Linked DNA regions of Homo sapiens: all the other regions are linked to region 2. The links are contacts of gene promoters, found by promoter capture Hi-C in blood cells and fetal thymus (Javierre and others, 2016). All regions are on one chromosome and are shown on one strand. The core of a region is centred on a gene start or on the middle of the fragment in contact, and the rest is flanking DNA. Distances in the headings are between cores, read along the strand shown. Region 1 has its middle 3.5 kb from the start of IFFO2. Region 2 holds the start of UBR4 (ubiquitin protein ligase E3 component n-recognin 4). Region 3 overlaps CAPZB (capping actin protein of muscle Z-line subunit beta).

The links. The method cuts DNA at HindIII sites, captures the fragments that hold promoters and counts their contacts. A CHiCAGO score of 5 or more calls a contact.
Region 1: a fragment that was not itself captured here is called in contact with the fragment with the promoter of UBR4 in region 2 in 1 of 17 cell types (fetal thymus); the score reaches 5.7 in fetal thymus.
Region 3: a fragment that was not itself captured here is called in contact with the fragment with the promoter of UBR4 in region 2 in 1 of 17 cell types (neutrophils); the score reaches 5.8 in neutrophils.

The regions. Positions count from the first base shown.
Region 1 is chr1:18,958,616-18,961,672 of GRCh38, reverse strand. No RefSeq gene overlaps it. Among named protein-coding and RNA genes, the nearest start is that of IFFO2, 3.5 kb to the right of the region's middle. The HindIII fragment of the contact is 4,369 bases long and covers 1-3,057 here.
Region 2 is chr1:19,208,211-19,211,580 of GRCh38, reverse strand. It overlaps UBR4 (ubiquitin protein ligase E3 component n-recognin 4), which reads left to right and starts at 1,315. Exons shown (of 106, transcript NM_020765.3): 1 at 1,315-1,508. The coding sequence starts at 1,333. It overlaps EMC1-AS1 (EMC1 antisense RNA 1), which reads right to left and starts at 1,195. Exons shown (of 2, transcript NR_135114.1): 1 at 1,022-1,195. RefSeq lists silencers at 231-300, 1,326-1,645 and enhancers at 926-975, 1,226-1,275. The HindIII fragment of the contact is 5,774 bases long and covers 650-3,370 here.
Region 3 is chr1:19,343,708-19,347,030 of GRCh38, reverse strand. CAPZB (capping actin protein of muscle Z-line subunit beta) reads left to right here. Exons shown (of 9, transcript NM_004930.5): 7 at 1,779-1,844; 8 at 2,597-2,673. Among named protein-coding and RNA genes, the nearest start is that of SLC66A1, 33 kb to the right of the region's middle. RefSeq lists an enhancer at 2,559-2,608. The HindIII fragment of the contact is 1,337 bases long and covers 1,361-2,697 here.

The DNA.
Region 1 (3,057 bases), core at 198-2,697, 250 kb after region 2:
ATCCTCCCACTTCGGCCTCCCAAAGTCCTGGGATTATAGGTGTGAGCCACTGCACCAGGTCAGATATTCTTTTTTTTATACCAGGTCTCACTCTCACCCAGGCTGGCCTGGAGTGTAGTGGTGCAATCTTGGCCTCTGGGGGTTCAAGTGATTCTTGTGCCTCAGCCTCCTGAGTAGCTGGGACTACAGGCACATGCCACCATGCCCAGCTAATTTTTTTGCATTTTTACTAGAGACGGTGTTAAGCCTTTGGCCAGGCTGGTCTCAAACTCCTGGTCTCAAGTGATCCACTCGCTTCGGTCTCCCAAAGTGTTGGGATTACAGGTGTGAGCCACTGCACCTGGCCCCAGGTCAGATAGTCCTATAGTCTTATTTCCAGATGAAGAACTGAGTACAGAAAAGGAAAAATTAAAACTATTGAAATTTAAAAAGAGATCATTTATAAAGAGGAACAAACTACTGATACATGCTACCACATGGATGAGCCTCAAAGACATTGTGCTCAATGAAAGTGGCCAGACACAAGAGATCACATATTGTAAAATGTCATTTATCTGATATATGTAGAAAAGGCAACTCCATAGAGACAGATCCCAGATTAGCGGTTGTCTGGGGCAGGGGGTAGGAGTGGGGATGATGAAATATTCTAAAACTGGTTTATAGCGTTGTTTGCACAACTTGGTAAATTTATTAAAAACCATTGACATGGGTGAATTACATAATATGTAAAATATTCCTCAATAAAGTAAAAAAAAGAAATGCAATTACGTTCTGCAAATATAACATTTCCTAAGCAGCCATGATCCACTTTACAGGAATTTCTCCAGTAACTAACAGCTCATTCATTTGTTCACCTGAACTCATCTTTGTTGAGCACCTATTATGTGCCAGGTACCATGCCAGGATATGGGTTCCAGGGTGAATCTGATCAAGTGCTTCTGCTCTAATAGAGAATATGGGTTAGCAAGTGTTAGAAGGCTGGGCTAGAAGGGGTGGAGATGCAGATGAGAAATCCAGCAATGACAAGAGCGTATACTTGGGGCTGCCACAGGGTGGGCAGTGCTGGCAGAGCCTGGAGGAAGCACCCTCCACCCAGACCTGGCAGGTACTTGAGAAGGTTCCGAGAAGAGAAGTTTCCGAGAAGAGAAGGTTCCGTGCTTGAGGCTGGGACCTGAAGGATGAGGAGTTGTTAGCAGGTGAAATGGCTGGGGAGTGGGGCAGGAAGAATAAAAGTCATTTTCTCATTCATTTCTTAATTCTTTTATTCATTCATTCAGCAACTGTTCATTGAGAGCAGTTATGCCCATTTCCCTGATGAGGAAATAGAGCCTCAGAGAGGTAAAGTGACTTAGATACAAACCTTAGCCAATCTCTTGTCTTAAAAGCCCACCTTTTTCCACTCCCCACTCTTGCCTCCAAAAACAGTCTGGACAGGTTAGACACACCGCTGTGACTTTGAGGGTCAAGGGGAGGTACCCTGCCAAAAAACAAAAACCTAATTATCCTTGTTTAGTGAGAGGAGGCTGGCGTCCCCCACAGGGATGTTCCTTTGTCTGTTGGAACTCTTCCGCTGCCTTGAGGACCCACCTTTAGCCCCCTTTGGATCTTGAATGGGGGAGCCAGCCTGCCAGTGTCTGGGGTTAAGGGGAGGAGACCACTGAATTCATTGTCTGGGCCAGGGAGGACCTACCATTGGAAAGGGAATGGGACCAGAATTCCAGACCAGGCTTTGATACCAATTATTCAGGAGACCTGGGTCAGTCCTTACCTCTCTGTGGTCCTCAGTTTTCTGGTCCCTGAAACAAGAAATCTGGGCTGGCTGTATCCTGAACTATAGGACTTCTGGCCTCAGATGCCTCCAGATTGATATGGGCTGGAAGTAGGGTGACACATTTGTTCTGATTTGCTCGTTCTGATTTACTTTCCAGGTTTTAGCATCAAGAGAAACCTTCTCAGTTCCTGATAAATTGGGATGGTTGGTCACCCTAGCTGGAGGACTGTTAGGTTAACCTAACCTCACATTTTACCCACAAAGAGCAAGACACGCAGCACCCGCCTTTATTCCTATGTGGCCACGAAGCTATTTTCAAGCCATTTTGTTTGCACATATCATGTTTCTAGGGTTCAGCTGAAAACCCTCTCAGGTCCAGCTACCACTTCCCTCAATTCCTTCAGATCTTCTGGGCTCTGCTTGGCCATCTCCTTTTCCCCCCTCTGCACCCACTCCCATGCCTCAGGATGGTCTTTTTTGGTTGTCTCCATCAGCTCCCCTGGAGCCCCTTTAGCTCCTTCCTCTGCATTTAATGCAGGATTTGTGCCGAAGCAGGTGCTCCACAAGTCATCACGGAAAGTCTGAATATCTCCAGGGCCCAGGGCAGGGCTGCCCCCACCCTCAAGGAGGGCTGCACACCCCAATTCCAGGGCAACTTTGTTGGAAGGACAGATCCTTCCTGGAAGAGGTTGCAGGGAGCCACTCCCCAGGTGTGACTTCTTAACCCTTTCTCTTCCATGGGACCACTCAGGCATTGGGTGGAGCCTGTGGACCCCTTCTGAGAATAATTTTTTTAAAAAGGCATTAGGATTACTATGAAAAGTCATTTTACTAAAAATAGATATCAAACTATTAACAATTTCTCATATAGTAACATACGTTCTCTTTTACTAATACATTAAATAAGATTTAGTGGTCGGTCTAATATGACTTTAATTTCACAGTTCTCGTAGCTTAGATGATATCTTGAGATGTTTACAATAACTGTAGTGTGTTACATAAATACCTGTGATTTCTACTAGTGACAAAATCACAGGGACATCTACTTGCTGCCTACATTCATAATCAAAGGATATGTTAAAAACCATTGGCTGGGCACGGTGGCTTACGTCTGTAATCCCAGAACTTCGGGAGGTCAAGGTGGGCGGATCACCTGAGGTTGGGGGTTCAAGACCAGCCTGACCAACATAGAGAAACCCCCATCTCTACTAAGAATACAAAAAAATTAGCCGGGTGTGGTGGCGCATGCCTGTAATCCCAGCTACTTGGGAGGCTGAGGCAGGATA
Region 2 (3,370 bases), core at 66-2,565:
TTATTTCGAATGTAAAGATGCAGGCTGGGCGCAGTGGGTCAAGCCTGTAATCCCAGCACTTTGGGAGTCCAAGGTGGGAGGAACCTAGGACTTCGAAAACAGCTTGGGCTACGTAGGGAGACCTGTCTCTTAAAAACAAACAAAAAAAATTAAGAGTGGTGGCCTGCACCTGTATAGTCTCAGCTACTGGGGAGGCTGAGGCTGGAAGATCACTTGAGCCAGGGAGGTGGAGGCTGCAGCCAGCTGCAACTCTGCCACTGCACTCCAGCCTGGGCTATTGGGCGACAGAGCAAGATCCTGTCTCAAAAAAGGTAAAGTAGGTCATATCTTAATAAAAGTGCAGATTAATCACTAGGTACCAATTCATTTATCAGTGTTACACACCAAGAACAAAAGCTCTTCCTAAACTTAGGGGGAGAATTTCAGGGCTTTAGGAATTTGAAACCGTCTTCACAGTTCCTTCCCAGTCTTATTTAGGCCAGCTGTAGGCCACAGGCTAGAGCTTGAAGCCGTCCACCAATATCTCACTCACAGGACTGTCCTTAATGCACGAATACCTTTCCTCGAGCAAACTGCTTTTCCCTCTTAGACCTTGTAGCCAGATCATTTTACCGGCAAAAGTCTCAGACATCTCCTGTGAATAAAAGCTTACATTCTTTCCTTGCCAGTAGAAAAAAGGGGAACACGTAAGCATACGTGGCAAATTGCAAAGAGGGATGCATTGTACGAGCTGGTCAGATTGTTAATGAGGGCAATCCAAACAGAAGAGATTTGAGTGCTAAGGGAATACGGATCAGTGATTAAAAGGTGTTGTGAGAGGGAGAAATCTTTGTAAACTATGGCGCTCTTTAGTATTACTATTGGGGGGATCTAGGCAGGGGAAGAAGCAGGTGAAAGCGTTTTAGGCTTCGGCCTCCTCTTGTCGTCCTTAGCTGTCCCAGGCCAGGGCCATTCTATACGCCGAGGCGTAGTCAACTCTGCTGCCCTAGACTTGCCCACTGAACCCATGCCCCAGACTCACCTTTACCCGCTGCCCGGAAGCCAAGTCGCTACCACCTGCTTGAGCAACTCCCACCGCGCAGGCTCAGAAGTTAACGCTCTCCCGCCTTTCCCCGCTGCGCTACCTTCTGAGCAGGCGCAGCGTCTCCGATCCGTTCCCTCGCCGCGGCTCGACCCCGGTGAGAGCAAAGGCCGCTCCGCGCGTCGCGTTTTTGACCCATGACGGCGGCGCGCAGTCTGACGCGACAGATTGCGTCACTTCCGCCCCCTCCTGGGAGGCGGCGCTGGGCCGGTGGCAAGCCCCCGGAGGGAGCCGCAGTAGTACGACGGAAGATGGCGACGAGCGGCGGCGAAGAGGCGGCGGCAGCGGCTCCGGCGCCGGGGACCCCGGCAACGGGGGCGGACACGACCCCGGGCTGGGAGGTGGCTGTGCGGCCCCTGCTGTCCGCGTCCTACTCCGCCTTCGAGATGAAGGAGTTGCCGCAGCTGGTGGCCTCAGTCATCGAGAGGTACCGGGCGGCGGCTCTGGCGGGCGACGCTGTTGTGGGGGGAGGGGATTTCGAGCCGGATCGTCTGGACCCGCTTTCCGGGCCGCCCCCTGCCCCCTTGAGGATCCCCGCCACAGCCACGGCTTCGGGGTCCCGGGCCCGGGGAGACTGGCTTGCCTGGGTTTCCCTCCGCCAACGCATGTAAATCACCTCTACCTCAGTTTCCCCTCTCGAGCAAAACTTTAGCGGCCTCCCTGCGGGAGGGCGTGGCCGGACATGGTTGAGAGTGAGATGCATTCGCCCTCTTAAGGGAATGTTCACGGGGCTGCCCCTTGGGTCAAGTCACAGATGAGTTTGCATTTCTCGCCCGCACTCATCCTCCTAGCCTGGGCCGGAGCGGAGCCGTACGGTATAATTTAATAACGGTCTCCCCGCGGTGCTGTAATCAGTGGGGGCACGTGCTATTTCTGTGACTGAAGCCACTAGCTACATTGATGACCTCTTTTTACGTTGCACTCCTTGTGCATTCCTACTGTATCGGTCTTTGATTAAAAACATTTCAGTGTGTGTCTGAGAGATCATTTTCCCAGAGGATGTGTGGTGTGTGTGTTCTCTTGCTGCCTCCCATCCCCCTCGCATTAAAATATCATCACATTCTTTTACAAACGGTACTATCTGTTGGTTTCCTTTTGTGTGTTTTTGTCTTTTTGCACAGCGATTCTTAGCTAGTGACAGTTATGTAGGTACAAAGATGGTGATCTCAGAGTGCCTGCCTTTTCCTGACATACTGTGCTCAGAGCAGTCTTTCATTAGTTTAATGGTAGACTTTTGCTTTTAAAGCCAGACTGACTTTCATTTTTCTAGCCATACCTCATTTCAGCAACTCCCTGCAATTGTTAACTGGGTCATTTTAGCTTCACGATGACAAGGGTATATCTAGCTGCTATCCAGAGGTTAAAAATTGCTATTTGTTACTCAAAGGAGGCCCACGGTTTGACAAATTGTTTTTGTGCTTTTTCTTGTTGTAGACTTGTAATCCTTTGGATGCAGAGTTTTTAACAAATTATAATAAAATAATGGTTGAGTTTGGTAACTTCACAGTCAGCTTTACAGACGGATTTTGCTATCTAATCATCAGGCCAGGAATGTTCTGAAGATGTAAACAGGTTTCAAATATACTACTTTCAAATTACGTGGCTGCTTTTTGTTTTAAACATTTGGATTGGCAGTATTTTTCCTGACTCATACTCATGTTACGTAGAATCAGTAACGTTCCAGTCTTTTTAGAGCATTTGCTTTTATGTTTTTCTGGACATGAGCTGGATAGGTTATAAAATATTAATAATTTGTTGACACCCTTCCATAAATCCTGTATTCTGGGGCCACCTTTAAAGCTGTAATACTTAAGGAACACCCTCCAACCAAATACATCACTAGGTTTGAATTTTGCCATGTATGTGGTAGTGGTCTTTGCCATACCCTCTGTTTGTACAAATAATCAAGAGTTGTATTTGTAGACATTAATAAGATCTCTCTTTATGGCTTAGAAAATAAGTCCAAACTGATGGGTCTTTGGTAACGCATTTATTGGAAGGCAAGATCTCTTTTTTTTTTTTTTTTTTTTTTTGAGATGGATTCTTGCTCTGTCACCCAGGCTGGAATGCAGTGGCGCCATCTCAGCTCACTGCAAGCTCCACCTCCCAGGTTCACACCATTCTCCTGCCTCAGCCTCCCAAGTAGCTGGGACTACAGGTGCCTGCCACCACGCCCAGCTAACTTTTTGTATTTTAAGTAGAGATGAGGTTTCACCATGTTAGCCAGAATGGTCTCCATATCCTGACCTTGTGATCCACCCGCCTTGGCCTCCCAAAGTGCTGGAATTA
Region 3 (3,323 bases), core at 780-3,279, 130 kb before region 2:
TGTCTCTACTAAAAATAAAAAATAAAAATAAAAATAAAAAAAAGCCGGACGTGGTGGTGGGCACCTGTAATCCCAGCTACTGGGGAGGCTGAGGCAGGAGAATCACTTGAACCCAGGAGGCAGAGGTTGCAGTGAGCCAAGATTGCACCATTGCACTCCAGCCTGGGCGACAAGAGCGAAACTCCGTCTCAAAAAAAAAAAAAAAAAAAAAAAGACAAAAGTCGGGTCAGTGCTGCCGCCCCCAGTGTCAAGGATTTCAATCACAGGTCGGTTTTGCCCGACCCTGGAAGCCTGGTCGTTTAAAGTGGCTTGGTTCTCTCCTGCCCTCTGCTCACCCCGCTCTTAACCAGGTTGGTTCCACCTTTCACAGCCTGAAAGTCAGTCTCCCTGATGAGGAGATGTAGAAATAGGTGAGAAGCAACAGAGCCCGTACCCTCTGAGACAGTATCTCCCCCCAGACTCCACCCTGTTCTCCTGGTTCCAAAGAGAGGAACCCACCTTTTGCTGGTTTTTCTTCTGTGGGCCTGGTCTCATTTTGAACTCTACCCTTTCTTTTTTTTTTTTTTTTTTTTTTTTTTAGCTTCTCTCACAAATTTTATTTTATTTTAATAAAGCTTCAAAAATTATAAATAATGTCTAAGCAGATTTAGAATCTCAACAATAAATGCTTAGCCTTAGAGTACTGCATTTTTGTATTATAATTTGATGGCCACTTCTTGCATGGTTTCTACTCTACCCTTTCTGATGCTGTTCTTTTCTTCCTCTTTCTTGATTATTTATTTCAGCTTCCACATTTTATTTCAACAACATTAGTCATCGTAGCTGCGTATTCCTGTTTTCAGTGTAGTAACGTTGAGCATTTATGTTCCTAGCACTCTTCCAGGTACCCTGTGCGTTATGAGGCAGGCACATCTCTCCTGAAAGAATTTATATTCTTGTCAGGGAAATAAGGCTTCAGATAAGAAAAAATTCGGGGGAAAGTGCCGAATTCCTTCTACCCTAACCTGCCTCCATTTCCTCCCTCCTCCGAGTTGAGATGATTGGGTCAGAGCCAGCTCTTCCTGGGCTTGGGAAGAGGAGATGGGGCTTGAGTGCTGCTGCCCCCCTCATAACCTCAGAGTCTATATTGAGACTCTCTTGCTCAAACTCTCCTCGCAGAGTAGAACGAACAGGCCCTGGTGCGAGGAAGGGTTTGACCCAGGCTCTGCCATTGCCACCTGCATGACTAGGGTGAGCCACTGAATCCCTCTGGCCTGAAGTCTCCGTCAGAGGTTGTCTGTCCCTCCCTGCGAGACTGCAGCAGATGGCACCCCAAAGCCACCATTTGGGAGCGCCAGGGCGCAGCAGCAGCACAGAAGCTTCCCCTGCAGTGTCAGGCCCTGAACCTGGGGTGGATGGCCCAGCGTGGGCCTGGGCCTGCCAGTAGAGGCCTGAAGACAAACCGAGTGAGTCTTCTCCAGTTGGCTCGGGTGAGCTGGTGCCTGCCAAGGGCTGCTGCTGTGGCTCTGGGCATCTGCCTGCTCTACCATGGGCAGCAGCAAAATCTTCTCCCTTGGAAGTGGGACTCTGGGCTTCTGCCCTCTGGGCTCTTTATGGTCTGAAACTGAAGTCGGTTTGTGCTTCAGTTCCCAGGCTGCAAAACTGGCCTTGTCATACCTGCAGCTGGCTCCACGGTGGGAACAGTAGGCTCTTTGCAGACCGTGGAGGTGGGGTGGGCTGTCTGCCGTTCTCAGAAATCTCTGGCTTTCTCTGACTTGGAATGTTTCTGTCTTTTGCAGATGGAGAAGGATGAAACTGTGAGTGACTGCTCCCCACACATAGCCAACATCGGGCGCCTGGTAGAGGTGAGTGACCTGGGCTCTGGCTGGCTCCTGCAGTGACCCACAGCAGTGACACTGCAGCCCCGGAGCCGCTGTGCTGGCCTCCTTCTCTGCTGCTTTCTCTCAGCTCCACCGCAGCCGGCAGAGCGCTTCTTGGATTTTGCCCTGGCCTCATATTTTTGGAGCCTCTGATTTGGATGCCAGCAGGCTCCAGCTTCAGGGCCACCTCCTGCTCCACCCCCAGACCTGGGCTCCCAGAAGACTGCTCAGGCGCTGGCTCTGGGGCGCACTAGGTCTTGTCTCCCCTGATCGCCTGGGTGTGAACAGGGCCCTGCGCTGGGAGAGGAAGCAGATCCCAGGAATGCCAGTGGGCCCTGGTGTGGCTTCAGTTGCGGCTGCCTTGGCCCTCCTGTCACCACGTTGTTTGGGAAGGCAGGGAGGTGCTCTCGGGTTTCACAGAATTGTTCACAAAATTAGTGGGGAGCCCAAGGGGTGGTGATGTGGTTTAGAGCAGCTCCCAGGCATGGGCAGAGCTGGCCGCCAATCCCTGGGTACTGGCTTCCTCCCTGCCTGTGGACTGTGGATGGGAAGGTGCCGGGAGCACAGATGGCAGGTGGGGTCTTGGCAGCCTGGAGCGCGCTCACTGATGCCCCAGAGCAGGCGTGTGCCACCCTCCAGTGGCCACACTGGGGACTGCAGGGCTGGCAGGTGGAGGGAGGGCGTGGGCCTCAGGGTTCCTGACCTTTTGCCACTGCGCTGACCGACCTCCCTTCCAGGACATGGAAAATAAAATCAGAAGTACGCTGAACGAGATCTACTTTGGAAAAACAAAGGATATCGTCAATGGGCTGAGGTAATGTACCAGAAAGCACAAGCTTTAGAAGCAGACAGAGGGATTTGAACCCTGGCTCTGCCAGTTACTAGCTGTGTGGTCTTGGGCCTCGGTGTCCTCATTGGTAGGCTGCAGTGCCCCTCTTCTGGGATGATCATTATGTTGATTTTGGAAAGTAAAGTCCTGATGTGTCATCTGCACTCTCCGTAGCAGCTGTCGGTCCCTATCTGCACCATTTGTTTTCTGGGGCATGTTCACCCTAACAGCCATTGGTGCCCTTGCCCCCGGAGCCTCCTCAGCCCTGCAGTTTGTCAGTCCCCGCTCAAAAATCTCCCCACCCTCCAGCCTGGGCCTAGGGGAGCCATGACACCACATTCCGGGCAGCCCGGCTGCCTCTGGCTGGCCTGCTCTCCGAGACAGCAGAGCGCAACGTGCAGGCAGGGCCCTCAGTCCGGGCCTTCTCAGGCCCCCAGCCTCCCTGACGCCACATGCAGGCAGGGCCCTCAGCCTGGGCGTTCTCAGGGGGCCCCAGCCTCTCTGACGTCCTCTGCCAGGGCTCTGCTGCCAGTGGCCAGTGTCCTGCACCATCCTTCCCACCTCGTGCCCTCAGCTCTGCAGTGTCAGCCCAAACAAAAGCCGGGCGCTCTCTGGACCCTCCAGGTCCACGGCGG